3 separate regions of the Homo sapiens genome follow, and regions 1 and 3 are each linked to region 2. Evidence: promoter capture Hi-C in human tissues and cell types (Jung and others, 2019). All regions are on one chromosome and are shown on one strand. The core of a region is centred on a gene start or on the middle of the fragment in contact, and the rest is flanking DNA. Distances in the headings are between cores, read along the strand shown. Region 1 overlaps CFAP61 (cilia and flagella associated protein 61). Region 2 holds the start of INSM1 (INSM transcriptional repressor 1). Region 3 overlaps RALGAPA2 (Ral GTPase activating protein catalytic subunit alpha 2).

Region 1 (4,488 bases), core at 1,554-4,053, 57 kb before region 2:
GCGTGCTCAGTGAAGGCCCAGTGGAGACAGAGGAAGTGATTTCTCTCTGTGCCTGTTTTGGTGGGGTCAATTAGAAAACATTCTCTCCAGATCATGTGCCAAAGGTGTACAGATGGGGAAGGGGGCTGGTGTGGGGGAAGGGGGCTGGTGTGGGGGAAGGGGCGGAGCAGGTAAGCTTTCTGGGGCACTTGGTCACTCTGCAGGCCTTGCAAGGGACACTCGGCCTTGCTGGGTGAGATAAAAATTCTGTCTTGCCCTATGCTTATACTTGTTTCAAGCTCAGCTGGCCAACCCCAGGCAGCCTGGCACTTCCCTGCCAGAGTTATGAAGACAACCTTGATTACTAACATACTGTCTTGTTGTCAGAGCCCAAGTCTTGATTTGGGGTTTAGGAATGCTGACTGGTAGGTTCAGAACTGACTTCCATCCCTCTGCACATCTTCGTAAAATCGCTGTTCTTTTCAAACTTGTACAGCAGGAGTTAAAGTCCTTTATAGATTTTCTTCCTCCATTTCATTACATACCCATCTGGCAGCATGTGGTTGAAGGTTATTACTTATGAGTTTAAAATAATAGCTGATGAGCCGTGGTTATCTTTAAGGCTACTAAGCTGCTTTAATATAAATACCTCTTTGCCGAACTCCAAGAAACAACGGAGTTGTTTTACTGTTGTTGGAACTGTGAAAATAAATGCATTTCAGAAATCATGTTCTCATTCTACTGAGCCACGAGAAGGAACTGGCCTGCCTGCCTAAATTTTTTATGGCAAACTAACAATTGCAAAGAGACGCTTTGAAGCCACCTGGGCAGTAGGGATTCACAGGTGCAGCATTCTCCTTCTTTCCCTCCTACACCTGAGTCTTTATAGGTTTCTTTTTGAGGGTTATTTAAGCATATTTGTTTAATTTTTAAAAATTTCCACTCCAAAAGCAATATGTGTTTATTACAGAAAATGCAGAAAAATATTTCAAAAGCCGAGTAGAATATAAAATCTATACCTAATCCCACCACCCAGAACCTATTTTAGATGATTGCACTATGAAATGAAAAGAATTGAAGGGGAACTGCGATTTCCTCCTAGAAATAAGACCTGCAGCAAGCTTGCAGACAGCACAGCTCTCCTTCCTGGGTGCCAGGCAGACCCTAACTGCAGCCCCGCACACCTGTCTCGTACAGGTGAGGCAAGGGAGAACCAGAGTGGCCGGGCTTTCCACGTGCCACAACCAAGACAGTGGCACCAATAGGACCAGAACCAGAGTTTCCTGACTTTCTGTCAAGTTTCCTTCATACAGGACAAATAGGAGTAGGTTTGCCATCATGCAATGACCATTCTTTAGTAAAAGCAGTTGTTGTGTTTGACTCATCATTTACCTATTATAAGAAGATTGGCCAAAAAAAAAATTATGTTTGGGACAGGAGAATAATTTTGCTCTCTGATAAAATACCTCAGAAGATGCCCAGGATAATTCATGTGTGGAGGAAGAAAATATTAGAACTTCTGTTTATAATTTTATCTTTAAAAAAAAAACAGAAATCATGTTTTATTAGTATTCAAAGCACACGCATGGGTGCCCTCTTGGGTCAGATGGAAGACAGCTGTGCATTCTACATGGCCTCAACACACCATAATGGGACAGTGTCACAGCTTGGAGGGGTCAACCTTATTAATTAACTTTGTTTTTGTTTTTGTTTTTTGAGATGGAGTCTCGCTCTGTCACCCAGGCTGGAGCACAATGACACAATCTCAGCTCACTGCAACCTCCACCTCCCTGGTTCAAGTGATTCTCCTGCCTCAGTCTCCTGAGTAGCTGGGTAGCAGGCATGTGCTACCACACCCTGCTAATTTTTGTATTTTTAGTAGAGACGGGGTTTCACCATGTTGCCCAGACTGGTCTCAAACTCCTGATCTCAGATGATCCACCTGCCTCAGCCTCCCAGAGTGCTGGGACTACCACCACACCCAGCCCTTATTAGTTAACTTTGGAACCTACTGCAGCTTTTGTGTATCTGGTTCTGGTTTTAACTAAACTAACCCTCCACAAAATTGACATGAGCATTTAACGGATTGTTCAAAAGAAACTACAGAATGCAAAGCCTGGCAAAGCAGACACACATGAACCAGGAAAGGGCAGGGCCAGATCATCTCCTCTTCCTCAGCCACACTGTAAGTACCATGGTTCGTCTCTCAGCTAAGGTTCCACTGCAGACAGCAGAATCCTCTCTAGCTGGTTTAAACAGAAAGCAATATACTGCCAGTTATGGGTGCTTTATACAATTCCTTCAATGGGCTGGAGGAGCAGGCTTTAGACTGCCTTCCACGAAAAATTCAGAAAATGGCTCCGCAGACCTAGCCAATCTCTGCCACAGTGAGGAATTTGTGGAACTGAGAAACTGCCACAAAAGTTGCCAGCTCCATGACCAATCCTCTCTGGCAAAATCCACACCAGCAAAATGGGTACACTAAGCCCTGATTTCTGCCCCCTTCTGCTACAGCTGACACCAAATACTGCCACAGCCAGGCTTGCCAGCAAAAGCAAGAAATGCAGTGGAAGCACCTCCTCAGGGTGTTCCATGGAGTGAGGGAGAGTCCCTCCTCAGGGTGTTTTATAGAGTGGAGGCAGAATCTCCACCTCATGGTGTTCATGTCCATCGTCCACGTCCTGCACAGGGCTGTCTCTTTGGATGAAACTCAGTCCCATGTAGAACCTACACTGGACATGAGTCTGGAAATTGTAGTCTTTCCCTTCCCGGCCTGTGATATTTTGGCTAAATCATGCTACACAGTATCTTGAGTGTGGCTGGCTGAAACAGTCTACAGTATCTCTCATAGCTAACTAATCAACCTTGACCAGAAGTCAGCCCCCACAAAATGCAAAACTATCAAGAAGACTCTGGAGTTTGTATTTATATCTACTACCAGTGAGGATGATGGTTCTAATAATATACAGGTCCACAAAACCCTTATCCAAAATCCTAGGAGCAGATGTTGTGGAATTCTATAACTTTTTTCAAATTTTGGGAGGAACCAGACTTACCCTCCCACATGAAACAACTAAATAGCTGCCAAAATGTAAGAAACAAATTTTTAAAAAAGATATTAGACATCAGGCAATGAAGGACTGTGATCTTTGAGAGATGGGAAACAAAGAAGGTGAACCCTGTGGTTGATCCAGCTGACGGCCTTGAGAGAGTTCCCAGGCCACAGCAAGGGGAAGCAGAGCCCATGCAGAGTCCTGAGTGGAGGAGAGGGAGCCGAGAGTCCGGGGAGACCAAGGCAGGTGGAGTTGTCAGGACAGAGGGAGAGGGAGCTGAGGGTCCGGGGAGACCAAGGCAGGTGGAGTTGTCAGGACAGAGTACTGGAGAGGAGAAGGTTGCACAGAGAGAGAAGCTTGGAGATGTGCAGAAGCCTCCCCTGGGAGCATTCAGTTGAGTACTGGTCAGTCCATGTGGGCAAGGAAACTGCCCAAGACAGGGGAAAGAACCACTCTAAAGGATTAGAAAAAGCATGACAGTGTCTAATACTCACACAAGGCTGGGAACGCTGCCTGTTCCCACCAGCCAGACTTGAGAACTTTAAGATTAATGAGGCAATAGGTAGGGTACACAAAAGGGACTCATCTCAGTAGCAGGGAATAATTAGTCCTAAACCAAACATTGCTGCAGTCCGACTTAATAAATCTTGAAAGCAAGACATGAATGTATCAAATGCTTTCCAAGTAACTTATCTACATCTGAAAACAAGTTTAAGAGTGTTTATAGGAATACTGAAAATTTCCACACCTAACAAAATGATACAATTTCTGATACCTAATCAAAAAATTACTGAGAAGGCAAAGAAACAAGAAAATACAACCCATAATGAGGAGAAAAATCAATCAACAAAACCAACCCAGAACTGACTCAGATGTTAGAATTAGCAGACAAGTATGTTGAAACAGCTATTATAACTGTTACTATAACTGCATTCCATGTGATTAAAAAGTTAAGATGTGGAAAACACATAAAAGACCCAAATCAAACTTTTAGAGATGAAAACTACAATGTCTGAGACAAGAACTACCCTGGATGGGCTTAGTTGCAGATTAGACCTCGCTGGGAAAAGGGTAAGTGAACTTGAAGACATAACAATTGAAACTGCCCAAAATAAAACACACAGAGGAAAAAGAATATAAAACCATGAACAGGGTATCAGTGAGGAATGGGACAACTTCAAGTGGCCTAAAGAAATAACGACCAAAATTTTTCCAAATTTGATGAAAACTCACAAATCTGAGAAGCTCAGTGAATCTCAAGCATAAAAAAAAATGAAGAAAACTATGCCAAGGCATATCATAATCAAACTACTCAAAACCCACAATAAAGAGAAAGTCTTAAAAGCAACAAAAGACACGGGCACATTCTTTACAGACGAATAAGATGAAAATGACAACAGATTTCTCATCAGAAGCAATGCAAGCCAGAAAACAGTGGAGCAACATTGTTAAAGTA
Region 2 (4,240 bases), core at 1,220-3,719:
AAGAAAAAGAAACGGATTCATTGAATCTCAGTATCTCAGTAGCGTTTAATAGATTCCCTTGGCTAAATTCAGAGCCCTGTTTGAATTCACTCACGCAGGAGTTGTTTTGTTTTTTTTGTTGGTAGAGGTGCCGGTTTCCCATCCCCACGGCTTATTTACAATTATGGGTGTTGTTATTTTTAAAGGATTCACAAGGTGACTAACTCTCTGTTATCTGTTGAATGGAAGGAGTGTTACATATGCAAGACCGAATGGGGCAGGCCGAGCCCCCGCCCTATGCTATTCTACAATCCAGATGGGATTCGTGATTAGAAAATAAAATTGGCCAAAGCTGTCTCGGAATCCTTTTCCCACTTCTAATTTCATCAGCACTATTAATCAGAGCTCAAAAGAGCAAGGAAATAACATCAGTTACTTTTAGATAGAAATATGTTTATAAATTTTAGATAAACTCATTTTAAGATTTCTAACTTTTGGGGAGACTAGCACTCACCACAGCATTTTTAAAACTAGGGTGAGACTTTTCAAAATATATTTCACTATATGCATTCTTCCCTTTTCAGTGTGTGAGTTAAAATATTACAAACATAAAATTATCAAATATCTTTCCCTTGATTAACCAACCTGATTAACCCCTTAATTAATTAAGCCTAACAACTGTCCCCATCACAACTTATGACTCATGTGGACTCTATTTTTACATGTTTAATTTCTACGCCAGGGTATTTTCAGAGGGAAAATCCAAAACAATTAAATACCTTCAGTGGAATTAAGCGTAAGTAAAACTCAGCAAAATCTGTCTGGTATACAAAGCTTTGCAGAAAAATGTTTCCTTCTCTTTCAATAAAGTGACATTTTCCTCACAGCATATGACATTTTATGTGGCTTGGCTATTTGTTCCCCAGTGTTGGACGATCAGGGCCACTACGCACTCGTGGGGTTCTCTGCCCTGTCCCCCGAAGATTCTGCCTTTTGTGTTTCCTCGGGGCTGGGCTGGACAGAGGATGGAGGCAGGCGGCCCAGTCTGGGTCCAAACGGAACGGCAGCGGAGGTGGGGGTGGGGGTGGGGGCGGGGGGAATCTTCGCTGTTGTCTCTTCCTGGTGGCACAGGGGAGGCGGCTTGTCCTCTCGGAGGCCTCAGCCTGCCTCAGAGTACAGATTGCCCCCCCTCCCCCCGTCCAGCACGCGTCTCTTTTGCGTCCAGATTGGCCGCGACCGGAGCTCAATAGCAGGAGGTTAATTTCCTTCACAAAGGTGAAGGGGGCACGGCTCCGTGGGGGCTGCGCCCAGACAGGCAGCCCCTTTATTTCGCAGCGCCTTGATTGGAGCCCTTGATTTAGCATCTGATGTCAACCGGCAAACAAAATGCCCGCTCGGAATGAAAATGCATGAGGCCGCGCGGGGAGGAGAAAGCCAACTTCACTGGGGCGCACGAGGCCGACCGCGCGTTTCGGGCTTCGGCCAACTCGACCCGGATTAACCGAGCCTTGGACCACGCGGAAGCTCCGGGCGGCCTGGGTCGGGCCCCGCCAAAGATGCCATTCCCAAGCCTCCAAGAACCCAAAAGTTCAGAAATTCACGTTCCTCTGGGAACCCAGCCCAGCCCGCCCGCGCTCCAATCCCGCGCTTTCGGGAGACTGAGAAGGCCGTGCCAATTCCTTCTCAAACTCGAAAGAAACCTTCTCTAGCCCCGTGGGCGCGCGGAGGCTGCGAGCACAAACATCGCCCTCGGCCACTGCCAGAAGGCCGGGCCCCCTGTCCACACTTGGAACCCCGGGGAACCCTTTTGCTTGGCCTCTTGGGTCCAGCGGCCCATCCGTCCAAGGTCCGGGCGGAGGCCGTCCGGACCCTGCTGCTCTCTCGGATTCTTGTTTATTTCCCAAACACCACGCGGAGCCACTGCGCCTCCGCAACGATCTCCCCCGCACCGCCCCGGCGCGCCCCCGCCCCCACCCAATCAGCGCGCACAACTTCCCCCTCGGCTCCGGCTCGCGGATTGAACCCTCCTGACATATTTGGGGCCATTCTTCTCCTTTGTTGCTATTTTGCTAGCGACCCGCGGGTAATCCCCGCGCGGGAGGGGGGCGTGCATTGTCGCGCTGATGGACGGGCCCATTTGGCGGCTCCGCGCCCCCCGGAGGAGAGACACAAAGCCCAGGCACGTGCGCCTCCCCATAGAGAAGCAGCAGACCGTGAAGGGAGGCGGGGCCGGGCGTGTGCCTGGACCGGGCGGGGCGGCGGCGCCGGGCGGGGCGACCAGGGGCGCGCGCGGGGGCCCCGCGCCCTCAGGTACATCTGCCGCACCTACCGGGCGACCCCCGAGTCCCGGCCCCCTTTTGGCCGCCCCATCGCCCTCCCACCCTGCCAGGCTGAGGAGCTGCGGACGCGCTGATTGGCTCCAGGGGAAGCGGGAGGCGAGAACAATGGCCCCCTCCCCCCGTTAAAAGGGAGCGGCTGCCGGGCCCGGGGACAGGGACGCGCGTGCAGGGCGCAGAGCTGGGCCGAGCCGTCGCCGGCGCCACGCGAGTCCCGCAGCCGCCGCGCCCGGGCAATGGGCCGGGGGCACTGAGGGCCGCCGGGGCCGAGCGCGGAGGGGGGACCGAGCCAGTGCCGTGCCCTCGGGCCGCGCCAACATGCCCCGCGGCTTCCTGGTGAAGCGCAGCAAGAAGTCCACGCCCGTTTCCTACCGGGTCCGCGGCGGCGAGGACGGCGACCGCGCACTGCTGCTCTCGCCCAGCTGCGGGGGCGCCCGCGCCGAGCCCCCGGCGCCGAGCCCGGTCCCCGGGCCGCTGCCGCCGCCGCCGCCCGCGGAGCGCGCCCATGCAGCGCTCGCCGCCGCGCTTGCCTGCGCGCCTGGGCCGCAGCCACCCCCGCAGGGCCCGCGGGCCGCGCACTTCGGCAACCCCGAGGCTGCGCACCCCGCGCCGCTCTACAGTCCCACGCGGCCCGTGAGCCGCGAGCACGAGAAGCACAAGTACTTCGAACGCAGCTTCAACCTGGGCTCGCCGGTCTCGGCCGAGTCCTTCCCCACGCCCGCCGCGCTGCTCGGAGGGGGCGGCGGCGGCGGCGCGAGCGGAGCTGGCGGAGGCGGCACCTGCGGCGGCGACCCGCTGCTCTTCGCGCCCGCCGAGCTCAAGATGGGCACGGCGTTCTCGGCTGGCGCCGAGGCGGCCCGCGGCCCGGGCCCCGGCCCCCCACTGCCCCCTGCCGCCGCCCTGCGGCCCCCGGGAAAGCGGCCCCCGCCCCCTACCGCCGCGGAGCCGCCCGCCAAGGCAGTCAAGGCCCCGGGCGCCAAGAAGCCCAAGGCCATCCGCAAGCTGCACTTCGAGGACGAGGTGACCACGTCGCCCGTGCTGGGGCTCAAGATCAAGGAGGGCCCGGTGGAGGCGCCGCGGGGCCGCGCGGGGGGCGCGGCGCGGCCGCTGGGCGAGTTCATCTGCCAGCTGTGCAAGGAGGAGTACGCCGACCCGTTCGCGCTGGCGCAGCACAAATGCTCGCGCATCGTGCGTGTGGAGTACCGCTGTCCCGAGTGCGCCAAGGTCTTCAGCTGCCCGGCCAACCTGGCCTCGCACCGCCGCTGGCACAAACCGCGGCCCGCGCCCGCCGCCGCCCGCGCGCCGGAGCCAGAAGCAGCAGCCAGGGCTGAGGCGCGGGAGGCACCCGGCGGCGGCAGCGACCGGGACACGCCGAGCCCCGGCGGCGTGTCCGAGTCGGGCTCCGAGGACGGGCTCTACGAGTGCCATCACTGCGCCAAGAAGTTCCGCCGCCAGGCCTACCTACGCAAGCACCTGCTGGCGCACCACCAGGCGCTGCAGGCCAAGGGCGCGCCGCTAGCGCCCCCGGCCGAGGACCTACTGGCCTTGTACCCCGGGCCCGACGAGAAGGCGCCCCAGGAGGCGGCCGGCGACGGCGAGGGGGCCGGCGTGCTGGGCCTGAGTGCGTCCGCCGAGTGCCACCTGTGCCCAGTGTGCGGAGAGTCGTTCGCCAGCAAGGGCGCTCAGGAGCGCCACCTGCGCCTGCTGCACGCCGCCCAGGTGTTCCCCTGCAAGTACTGCCCGGCCACCTTCTACAGCTCGCCCGGCCTTACGCGGCACATCAACAAGTGCCACCCATCCGAAAACAGACAGGTGATCCTCCTGCAGGTGCCCGTGCGCCCGGCCTGCTAGAGCGCGCCCTCCACCCCGGCCCCCGAACTGTGCCTTCGCTTGGAGACCCACAAAGAGAGTGCGCCCTGCACTCC
Region 3 (4,361 bases), core at 616-3,115, 41 kb after region 2:
GATTGAGTTGGCACTGATTCCAACTTGCCCATGACCTTCGGTGGTCCCTTCCTGGGTTGGTCTTCAGCTTGCTCCAAATTAATGTGACAGGGTTAGACATGATCTTTCCTGAAGTCCCTTCTAGTTCAACATTCTATGATGTTCTTTGCTGGCTTCAGCAAAGTTATGGGGAAGCTGAACACATACAATTCAAAAGAAGCACTATTAATTAAAACCGTATTAAGACCACTTTAACAGGGAGGGAATGAATATGAATGTGATGAGTCTGTCACATGACTATCCTTTCAATGAGCGGGGAAACTCTTTTTGGTGGTTTGGGTTAGGATTTACTTGTGCTGTTTCTGGGAATTAACTTGATTATTAACTGCCCAGTGAAACGGCCAAGGAAGACTGCCTGTCAGGACTGCATGCGGAATGACGAGCTGCATATGGCGCGGAGGCCTTAGCAAGCAAAAGCTGGGTGTAGCCATATCCCTCTGGGCAAAGGCTGGTGAGTTCTAAGAGGAGTTTGTGTAGTGTCTACATCTCAGATTTGCTTTGGGGCGAATGTGTAACATAAGTGCCTCCATCTGCAGTTTTAGGAGAAGATTTTATTGGCCACCAAAATGACTCAGTGACACCAGGCAGAGTCTTCTGGCAAAGGTTCTGCAAACTTAACATAACGACTGTGTTGTAGAAGAAAAGCTACAGAAGTCTTTTTCATTAGGTAAGTGGCAATAATAACCCTTTCCACGAGGGCATCCAAGCAATTGTGTGAAAGATGAAAGTTTGCAGTTTTGTGCAGTAGCAGGAATGGCAGTGGCATCCTAAGACCGACTCAGACTAATCTGGTTTAAGCTCCAAATACGACCTACATTAAAAGTGGCAGACTCTGATGAAGCATAGTGAGGAATTTTCTCCCACTTGTTCTAAATCCTGGAGCCTTGACAATCCAGCCTATCATAAAGGAGGAAGTATTTCTGACCATATCTTGGAGAAATCAAATGCTGTGTTTATGCAGGGCTAACAAATAAACAAAGACCTGTGCTCCCTCTGCTGGCTCTCTATAGCAATATTGAAGCAGAAAGGAACCATACGTAGTATTGGCATCTTCAGCAAACACAAGTCAGTTTGGGTATTCCGAGAAGAACCACTCATTTAACTTGGTTTTGAACATTCTTTGAGAAAAATCTATCAACTTCTGACAAAGGCACTTGGAAATTCTTAAAATTAGATATTAAATGAGACATACCTGTAGCCCTTGGCTACCAGATTGCTAGCTGTGACCGTAATAGTGATCTGGGGATTGATTGATCAACAGACACAAGTGGATTCCTCCAAAATTTTTAGATCCAGACACAATCTTTAAGGCAGTTCTGAAAAAAATCTCAGGTCCAATGTAAAGTTCCTTTTTTTCTCTTTTATAAGAGCAACTTCTAAAAAGCAAAGATTTACACTATTTATATCTTTTCTGATAATGTCAAACACTAGACTTGATTTTCCAAATCATTAGCATGCAGAAGAATGACCTCATGGTGAACAGATGCACTTGGCTGTGAGCTGCAGTGATTACATCAGTCCCTCCCAGCAGTCGAGGGTGCCCATTCCAGTTAACCCTTTCAAGGCCTCTCTGCCGGTCCCTCTTTCTTGGTGATATGATTGAAAGCACAAATTTAGTCCCCCACCCCAATATGTGTGTGTGTGTGAGAGAGAAATGTATATGTGTATATAAATGTATTTATACATAAAACATATATATGTTAATTGCAACCAATATTTTAATACTGGCTACATTTTAGATTATTTAATGCTGGTCAAAAAAGGAAGGTAAACTATAGTGCTAGGTAAAAAAGTAGTTGAAATATCTTTACATGTCAGGTGTTATCAATACAAGTAATGGATGGAATAGATACAAGGTAGATACGATGGTCTTTAAAAATATTTTCTCATTAGGAAAATAGATTTTGTTTTGAAAGCTCTTTGAAAAATGCCGAGCGCTCATATATTAGCAGCTACACCACCATGTGTGGTTGACGGCGCATCCTGAACGCAAGCCTGTTCACCTGGCCAACCCACCCCCGCAGGGCTTGTTGGGCGGATGGGTAACAGCACCTGGATGGGGAGAGTCAGAAGCAGAGGGCATTTTCCAACAGTGGAAGCTTCAGGCACAGGCCATTCCCACCGAGTGCATCTCCCACTTTTACTTCAGACTTAAAGGCTGATTTTGGGGCTTTCCCTCTAGAAGTGGGGGCTGCATGCTGCTTTCTGGCTTGCTGCTACCAATACAGTGCAGAATGAATGCAGTGTTCAGGTGATGCTCCCTCTTCATTAATAATAAAGTCCTGGTGGTGAGGATACAAAGAAAACCTAGGAGCCCCTAATTCCTCAGATTGTGCATACGCATGTGAGCCCAAGCCCAAGGCCCTGCTTTGATGACACTGAGGGCCAGAGATGGTCTGATTGGGTCCTAAGTGCACTGTGGGAGCTTAAGCCGCTCAGGGTCAATTTTTCCAGTTGGCTTGTTGCTTGGAAGAACAGACTTCACCTCAATTTCTTAGTTTAAGCTGGCTGGCTCATCTGGGTTTGATCGCCCTTGTCCCAAGAACATAACAGTGTAAACAAATGACAAATGTTTTCATCTGTAGAAGTAGTAACAGATAGTGGACAGGGATTCCTCAAAAGCGAAGCCAGTATGTAAGCTAGAAGATGCTTCCGAAAACGTGCTTGTCTATGGTGCTGAAATGCTCTGTCCTCATTGTACTGCCCCACATTTCAGTTCAAATCAAGATTATATCTAGTTCATTCCTACTCAGCGTTATGAGAAGATATGCAAAGAATTAAAACAGAACATTATGCCTAGACTTAAAAATCACACTTAAGGATAGGCATGATAGACGTATAAAAATGTTTCCCACTCAACACTGAATTCCTTAAACCATGAACACTATGAAATGTAATACTGATGTTAATAATTTGAAAAGCGGAGGGAGTAGCATTTGTCTTGATATTCCATGTTTGGTTTCACGTTCCTTTTAGAAGAGTTCCAATGCCCACCCTCACATGCTGTCAGAATCTTCATTCTGCTAAGCAATTTTCAAAAATATGACGTTCTTGAAGAAGCCTATTGACAATCCTCTCCAAGTAGAGTTCTTAAAAACTCAAATTGCTCCTAGAATCTCACTCATTTCTATTGGTTTAAATAATTATGGATGTTTGGAAAAGATCAAATTAGTTTATACAGAGGCTAAAATATACATAGAAAACAAAGTCCATCATTATTCATTTTGATAATATCTTAATAATCTTAAGAATGTAACAGTTAAGGAATGAAAACATCTAGTTATTATTTACGTGTTTAATTTTAAGAAGTAAAAAGCTTTCTCAAGAGTTAAACAAACAAACAAAAAACAAAAAACAACCTGCACTGAAAAATCAAGTCCTCACGAAGAGGGGAATAATCTCATGAGGGTGGGAAAAAGCTGAATGAGATCTTTTTAAAATTAGCTTTGCTACAGATCCCTCATGTTCTTTCACTGAAAAATTAGAAACGATTTAAAATCTCTAGCCAGACCGAGTATGAAATCTTCATTTCCCTTGAAACGAATTTGTTTTTGTCTTAGATAGAATGTTGGCAGAGTGTATAAAAGAATTCAATTCACAGCTGTTCCACTTTTTTAATGTAAGAAACATTAATCAAAGCTTTAAGTTATAAGCTTTTCTCATGTTGCTTAGTATTCCAGTTCAACAAAGATCAATAGAGGCCATCCCAGTGTTCCTTGACGCCTCACCAGGAAGCAGAGGCGTGATTATGCAAATCACGCTGCTCCTGCACCTCTGCCAGCCTGCTTATCTCCCAAGCCTTCTGCCTGCTGCTCCTGGCTCCCTGCGCAAGTGCGTGCCTCTCCCTCTTATCTCCCAACAAAGCTCTGAGAGGCAAGGATTGAGGCCAGCGATGTTAAACAATGATGCATGGCTGATTTTATTTGTAAGTGATTTATTTCACTGGATTTAATTTTTTTTCACTTTGTGTATAAGATATTTGTTAACAAGTCAGAATAGGAGAAGTAAGGCAGTGTTCAGAGACAATTGACACAGGTTAGAAATCTATTAAGCACTCTAACAGTTTCATTTAAAGCAGTGGAAGAAGAAGGAAGCTCCTCACTGAGAATCTCAACATGCATTGGCTAAATATCCCATTTATTCTCTGAAAGGCAATTAATCTGTAATTATATGCAGAAATTTACAAGTAATAATTCTATTATTTGAAAGAAACACACAGTAATCACATAATCTGTTTAAGTGGCAATACATGTATTTTTCCCCCCAAACTGGAAATATAAAAAGAATAAAAACCTAAAAACAAGGAAATCTATGGAAACTTT

Evidence for each region. Contacts are between HindIII fragments. The study calls those that stand out against the background at their distance.
Region 1: a fragment that was not itself captured here is called in contact with the fragment with the promoter of INSM1 in region 2 in 1 of the 25 tissues and cell types used here (spleen).
Region 3: a contact is called between a fragment that was not itself captured here and the fragment with the promoter of INSM1 in region 2, in 4 of the 25 tissues and cell types used here (H1 embryonic stem cells, dorsolateral prefrontal cortex, hippocampus and 1 more).

What each region holds. Positions count from the first base shown.
Region 1 is chr20:20,308,318-20,312,805 of GRCh38, forward strand. The region is part of intron 25 of CFAP61 (cilia and flagella associated protein 61); the gene reads left to right. Among named protein-coding and RNA genes, the nearest start is that of CFAP61-AS1, 43 kb to the left of the region's middle. The HindIII fragment of the contact is 6,749 bases long and covers 1-4,488 here.
Region 2 is chr20:20,365,635-20,369,874 of GRCh38, forward strand. INSM1 (INSM transcriptional repressor 1) reads left to right here and starts at 2,470. Exons shown (of 1, transcript NM_002196.3): 1 at 2,470-4,240. The coding sequence starts at 2,634. The coding sequence ends at 4,166. RefSeq lists an enhancer at 1,563-2,333. The HindIII fragment of the contact is 4,823 bases long and covers 48-4,240 here.
Region 3 is chr20:20,407,058-20,411,418 of GRCh38, forward strand. The region is part of intron 38 of RALGAPA2 (Ral GTPase activating protein catalytic subunit alpha 2); the gene reads right to left. Among named protein-coding and RNA genes, the nearest start is that of INSM1, 41 kb to the left of the region's middle. RefSeq lists an enhancer at 3,520-4,154. The HindIII fragment of the contact is 3,302 bases long and covers 215-3,516 here.